Regions from separate parts of the Homo sapiens genome. Here region 1 is linked to region 2. Evidence: promoter capture Hi-C in 16 types of primary human blood cells and fetal thymus (Javierre and others, 2016). All regions are on one chromosome and are shown on one strand. The core of a region is centred on a gene start or on the middle of the fragment in contact, and the rest is flanking DNA. Distances in the headings are between cores, read along the strand shown.

Evidence for each region. The method cuts DNA at HindIII sites, captures the fragments that hold promoters and counts their contacts. A CHiCAGO score of 5 or more calls a contact.
Region 1: a fragment that was not itself captured here is called in contact with the fragment with the promoter of FLRT3 in region 2 in 6 of 17 cell types (megakaryocytes, endothelial precursors, fetal thymus and 3 more); the score reaches 22.7 in megakaryocytes.

Annotation. Positions count from the first base shown.
Region 1 is chr20:15,236,385-15,239,812 of GRCh38, reverse strand. All of the region lies in intron 6 of MACROD2 (mono-ADP ribosylhydrolase 2), which reads right to left. Among named protein-coding and RNA genes, the nearest start is that of MACROD2-AS1, 310 kb to the right of the region's middle. The HindIII fragment of the contact is 1,732 bases long and covers 848-2,579 here.
Region 2 is chr20:14,335,758-14,338,969 of GRCh38, reverse strand. FLRT3 (fibronectin leucine rich transmembrane protein 3) reads left to right here and starts at 1,358. Exons shown (of 3, transcript NM_198391.3): 1 at 1,358-1,566. All of the region lies in intron 3 of MACROD2 (mono-ADP ribosylhydrolase 2), which reads right to left. The HindIII fragment of the contact is 777 bases long and covers 1,330-2,106 here.

The DNA.
Region 1 (3,428 bases), core at 464-2,963, 900 kb before region 2:
TTCTTCCACACATTTGTCACCTAGTCTAAGTGTGTTAACCTATTTCTTTCTTTCTCCTGGCTTCTTTCTCCTTGAGTCAATGTGAGTCATGCCTCTTAATTTGGTCTATAAGCTTTTCTGTTGTGCATCCTCCGGGATAGCTTACCTGCTAGTATACTGGGAGCAGGGAAATTTTCAGAACATGGGCTCAGAAGAGATGGAGAGACTGCACTAAAGTTACTCGTATGGGCTGAAATCTAGGTGTTTAATATACTGCTGAACTTAATTCATAATTATAAATTCAAACTATACCACTTTGATAAGACATCCAGGAAAGCAAATATTTCACTTTGCACAGTTTTGAAGGGTATGTGTTTGTGTGTGTATAAAATAAACAAACAAAAATAGCTAAAGTGCAGCTTGAACCCAATCTGTGACATGTTTTCCATTAAAAAAAATCCTCTTTGCAACTCCATTGAATTGTACATAAACAAGTCAAGAAAGCTTTCTTTCCACTGACAGATTTGTTTTTATTTTAAATTTTTTATTGTTTTTACTTGTTCTTTCTCCTTTGGTTTCTGAGTTCAACACCTTAAGAATAGCTTAGATTCCATACATTGCAATTGCTCTCCAAAAAAAAAAAAAAAAATCTGAACATTTGCAAGAAAAAATGTTTGGTTTAAAGCCATTGCCTTTGCTCTATACTATTAACCCTCTAGATATATGCCAAAATTGCCCAATTGTTCAAACCTAATGTCAGGCTTGGGACTCTGTGGTCCGTGTCTTCAATTGACTATTTCCTCATGATACAGTGATCTAATAACTGCCGCTCAGGTCAGGGAAAAATAAAGCACTCAAGATGAAAGCTTGCATTGCAAATCTCTTTACTGTTTCTATACAAATTTCACTGTAATATACTCTCTTTGACAGTGTGCTAGGCCAGTATTTCCTCTGGAAGACACTGTTGTAGAAACCAATAATGATTTTCCTGAGAATGTTCCCTAGCCTGATAAAAGAACAGAAAATAATTATGTTGACAAATCCAGCCAAATTGAGATGTTTTATACTTTCATTTTAAACATAGTTTTCTTGGTCTTGCTAGTAGACTTACATCTGCAGAATATACAAGTGACTAAAAATAATTCTTTCAAATTGTAGATGAAATAAAGCAAAAAGTTTCAGACACTCTTACAAAAAGAATTGATCACGGTCCTAAAGTAAGATTTTTGAAGGAAATATATGACAATATATTTCCCAAATCATTGAAAGAACACATAATTTGAAAGAAACTTTATATTAGAATAAAATCAAAGGTAGACTCCTGCTTAAATTGCTCACCTCTAATATGTGTCTTCTGATTGATGGACAACTTTACATGCATTCAACCTTGGGTGGCCAACTCTTCCGTAATTTGCATGATGAATCAAAGGTTAGGATTATGAGATCTTGAAAAAACTTTAACTAAGGTGACACAACACGTGATATTGTTTTTCTATTAGCTAAGCATTACATTCACTTTCATAAGACCATGTATTCTATAGGATATAAGGCCAGTCACATCAATTACCATTTTTATGACATCTATATCACACTATGCTTAAAGAAGCAGATAATTTGGATGCCTAACTTTAAGAATAAAAATCTTTGAGCAACCTGTGTTTAGCATATTCAATGTAGCTTTGCTCTATTAGAAACTCTGTTTAACTTAAACCAATGCTCTCAATTCTATCAGGCTCAGCAAACCCTTTTATAACAAATATTTTGTAAAGTCCCCTTGCTATGCAGAAATGACATTTATCAATATTAACACTCATCTGCACACATGAAACAGGCATCAGTGCCCCACCCATATCTGCCCAGTTCTCATCATTCTAGCACATGCCCATCCACAGCATCTTCTAGCAAATACCCTTGCTGTCACTCTCTGCCTGAGCTTTTTCCTTCTGCCTGCCCAAGCGGGCAGATAAGAAATGCTGGGAAGTTAATGACCCAGGAGCAGTCCTCAGCCAGCTGATGAAGGGGGAAAGATAAAAAAAAAAAATAGTCCAGCTTTTCTCCTCCCTCAGATGGGACCACTTCTAGGCATGTTCTACATGGTTGCTGAGAGCTCCCCAGCAAGACAGAGCCCCACTTGTCCACACTGCCAACTTATAACACTCCCACTCCTCCTGGCTGCTTTTTCTTCCCTTCCTCACATCCCCACTCCTCTGCGCTGTTCCCTGTCATCACCTCCTATAGAAAGCACGTGCACACAACACCTTGGCTCAGGGTCTGTTCCCAAGGGAAGCCAAATGAAAACAACACATCAATTTAAAAAAAATCAATAGAGTGCCATAAGTGTGATATGAAAATGATTTAAAATGAAAGTATTTATAGTAAAATTCTATTTTCAACATGTAAAGACAAGGGCATGAATACACTAGAACACGCAATGAAGAAGGAAGATGTTTGCTTCACTACGTAGAATCACTACAAAAAAAATTCTCTAAATGTGGACTCAACCAGGTGTGAAAAACTCTCCTGCTGCTTGGGCATGGCCATCTGTAGCATAATTTTCTCAGGCACTCTTGGTAAAGTTCTAAGCAAACTAAGTACAAGCTTCCTTTAATTTTCATGATAGTCCAGGATACAGTGAAAAAGAGAGAGAGGCTTTGTTTTGATGTATCTTGGTGTTTATAAACAGGTTTTCACTTATATGACTGTCTGGCAAAACGTTAAAACATTGTGTGGGAGGAGGGACAGTTTTCCCATGTGGGCTTGGCCAGACCACATGTCACAACATCCCTGTCCCTGCCCACAAAATGCTTGTGGCACTCCCTAGTTGTTGTCACTGCCCAAAACCACCCTCACAAAATGGTCCCTAGAGGGCAGTGCTACACCCACTGAGAACCACTGGTTTAGACAAAAAAAGGCACATAATAATGGAGGAAAGAAAAAGGAACTTCACAGTGGCTTAGGCCACTAGATTTAGACTACCTCAGTTTAAATCCCACCTCAACTTTTTGTTCAAGGTAAGACCTTAATTCACTTGAGCTAAGACCAGTAGTGTTACAGGTCCAACCTACAGATGGCAGGTTAGTGTAATAGCCCACAGAATGCATGGAGTTACGGTCGTCAACATAATGCTTAGCTAGTGGAGAAACAGAATCACGATATGCATCACCTTGGTTTTGGCTCATATCCTTGGATGAGGAATTGAGCCACAGGGAAGGCAGTTTCCTTCTGGTGCATATTCCTCATCTCTAAGATGGAAGAAATCACATTTTCTAACTCAGGATTGTTTTGAGAATTAATGACTAAAACACAGTGCCTGGCACCAAGTGGGAGTTCAGAAACATTTGCTATTCTTATTACTATATTTCATGGCTCAATGATTGATCTCATTCACCCCTCTAACTCAAATCATCTCTCTGGTGTGGCCACCAGAAGACACAAATTGTGCAGGATCT
Region 2 (3,212 bases), core at 109-2,608:
ATTAGTTTAAGACAACGGTCCTCCAGGTAAATATAAAAGCTAAGTTCTTACCACCAACATGAACAAGTGAAATACACTTATTTGATGGAAAACTTACGGGCACAAAGCAATTGTTGACCAAATAGCAGAAACCAGTCTACAAAAATCATAATTAAAAATACAAGTATAATTCTGTTAATTAGGCATAGAAATTTATAATCTCCACGTCTTACAATTGTCCAGTGTTTATTCATGTACCTAAATTAAACTAAAATAATTTCAATCCAGGCAAACCACCCTGAAAGATTTTTTTCTTAAGATGTTTATATCTAAACCCATGCTCAGATCAGCAAAAACATTTAGAAAGGAAAATATTCTATTAAATTTTTTAAAAACATTTTATTGGGGGATCGTTAAATATAAATAATCCATTTTAAATAATATAAACACGTAGCAGAAGTACATAAAACATACTTTCATTTTCTAAAACATAGAGAACAGTAACTTCTTCGCCTCCAAAAGAACAGACCATTTAATACCATTTAAAAAAATCTTTTGGCATTCCTATTGCCCTTCCCATAACTAAATGAATCAGTGACACGTGTATATATATACATATATTGGAGATGGAGTTTCGTTCTTGTTGCCCAGGCTGGAGTGCAATGGTGCAATCTTGGCTCACTGCAACCTCTGCCTCCCGGGTTCAAGTGATTCTCCTGCCTCAGCCTCCCAAACAGCTGGGATTACGGGCGCCCAGCTAATTTTTTCTACATGTTGGTCAGGCTGGTCTCGAACTCCTGACCTCAGGTGATCCTCCCACCTCGGCCTCCCAAAGTGCCGGAATTAGAGGCGTGAGCCACCACACCCAGCCCTGATGTATATATTTGAATCTGCTGTTTATTCATATGTTGAATAAACATTCACAGTTGGGATTACTGGCATACATCTTCCACAATTATAACATTATTTTAGCTAGTGAATAATAAAACTAATTTGATTTTGGTTAACTTCTTTTCAATACAGATGGTTTAAAAATAAGACAAAGCCTGTCTTTTTCTATTGTGATCTTAAAAATATCTTTCTAACATGCTTTTTAAAAAAAATACATAAGTATGCTACCACTGCCTTGTAGTAAACTTTAGAAAATGTTGAGATTCCAAAGGGCTGCCTACAAACCAAATGGCATCCTAGCTTTGGCAGGCTGATGCTTCATTTTGGCTGCTCTCGCCCCCTCTAGCGTTTGCAAAGCTCATCTGTCTGATTATCCAGTTACCTCACTGAACAAGATCTTGGCTAAGTCCTGCCCATCTATGACATCACCCCCTTCTTCAGCCACTGCGAGGTGAAGCTTTAAACTTCAGACTTGGAGGTGGGCTGTGTGCAGTAAACTGGAATGCTCTCCCTCGCTCACTCCTCAGTGTAGGAGTGATCTGAAGCAGGACAAGCTCAGCCTGCAGCTGCCGTGGGCTTTGTGTGGACTGGACGCAGAGCTTGGGAGACGGGGGAGGGCTATTACTCCAATTCACTGTCAATGGAATTACAGCTATAGCGGCAGTGTATATAGGATTGCTTTTTCTCGTCTTCCTGGTAAGTGTTTTCCATGTTTTTTCTTATGATTGTCCCAGAAAGTTTGCTTGGTTTTACTCTCTAGAAAGAAACGACTTGATACTATGAGAAATCCAAATAGGAACGTTTGCTCTGTCACCACAACAAGCAATATATGTGCGTGCAAGCCAGCAATGAAAAATTTCACTATCATGGCTGAATGTAAGAAGTTTCTTAGAACCTTCTTTCATTTATAAAAGATAGTAAGTGGCTATTTTCTGTCTTGAGTAATTGCTATGTGAAAAGAGCCTTATGGAAAACAGCAAGTTGGAAAGTTCAATGTTAAATATTAAAGAATACAAGGAGATTCTTCACAGATAGGAAAGCAACTTGGTGTGTACTGTACGTGTGGGATGATCACCAATTGCTGTTTTTACAACTGTGAAAGAAAATCAATAATCCCTCAGCCCATGAGTACGCAGTACATGAAAAGCATACATCTTGCTCACAGCTAGCCGAGCTACTCCTGGAGACTTATGTGCCTCTGTAAAGGATTAACAGCTACACCTAGATTTTAAAGCTTGCACTGCTATCGTGCCTGAGCTGCTTCAAGCATTTCAGGCTTGCAAATCTCAACTAGTAAATTGAACTCAGAGGAGGGGGAGACACTCTTCCAAACCATATTCCCTCTTCAATAGAACACCAAAATCCATTGCTTAGGCAAGTGAAGTATGTGACTAGCATAGTAAATGGCTAAGTCTACTCAGAAAAACTAACAAAGCTCACCCTGGAAGCTATGCCTGATGTATGCAGTGAGTTTGGGGTAGCAGGAAAGAAAAATAAATGAGTAGAGCCCTTATCAAGTGGGTTTTGCAGAGGATCCATTCTTTGCAACTTATAATAGGAAAATCTTATATTGGAAGAAATGCATTTATACTACAAAGCTTGAAAAAGTAGTTAAATGTATCTTCTCAAAAAATTTTGTTCACTGAATTAGGTCTGAAACAAAATGGTTGCATATAGGTAAAGAGTGCAACAGGCCCATCCATGTCTTCTCAACATCTGGGGGGTTTGTTTTTATTATTTTATTTAGAATTTAAAAGAAAAAAAATTGATTTTTTTTTCAATTTTTAGTCCAAAATCTCTAATGGTTTTAATAATAAGGCTATTTTAAACATTCTTAATAAATCTGTCTATTAATAAATCTGTCTAAAATGCTCATCTATGTTATTTTATTATCCAGAAACAACATAAATAAAGCCACTAGAAAAGTCCTTCAGCTGTAGCAATGCCTTTCATTTATCTCTGACTGCATAAAAATATCCTGACCAGCCTAAACATAAAGAATAAATTTGCTTATATTCAGGGAGAATCACTTATACCTGACCCAAAGTGACAGATGACTAATATTCATCTCTTCCGAAATGAGTAAAGAAAAATTAATCCTTTAAAAGTGCCACAATCAATAATATCAACATTACCAACTACTACAAATATTAATGATAATATGCCAGGTTTTACCATGGGAAAATTAAATCAGAGATATGCCCCTTAGTTTGGACACATATATATACACACAGACAAACGCACATCTATTTATTACCCTGAAATAAAAACAGAGTTACAAAAACGCATAGATTTACTAAGAAAACTAAAATTTGATTTTTTGAAGAGCACAACCAAAACAC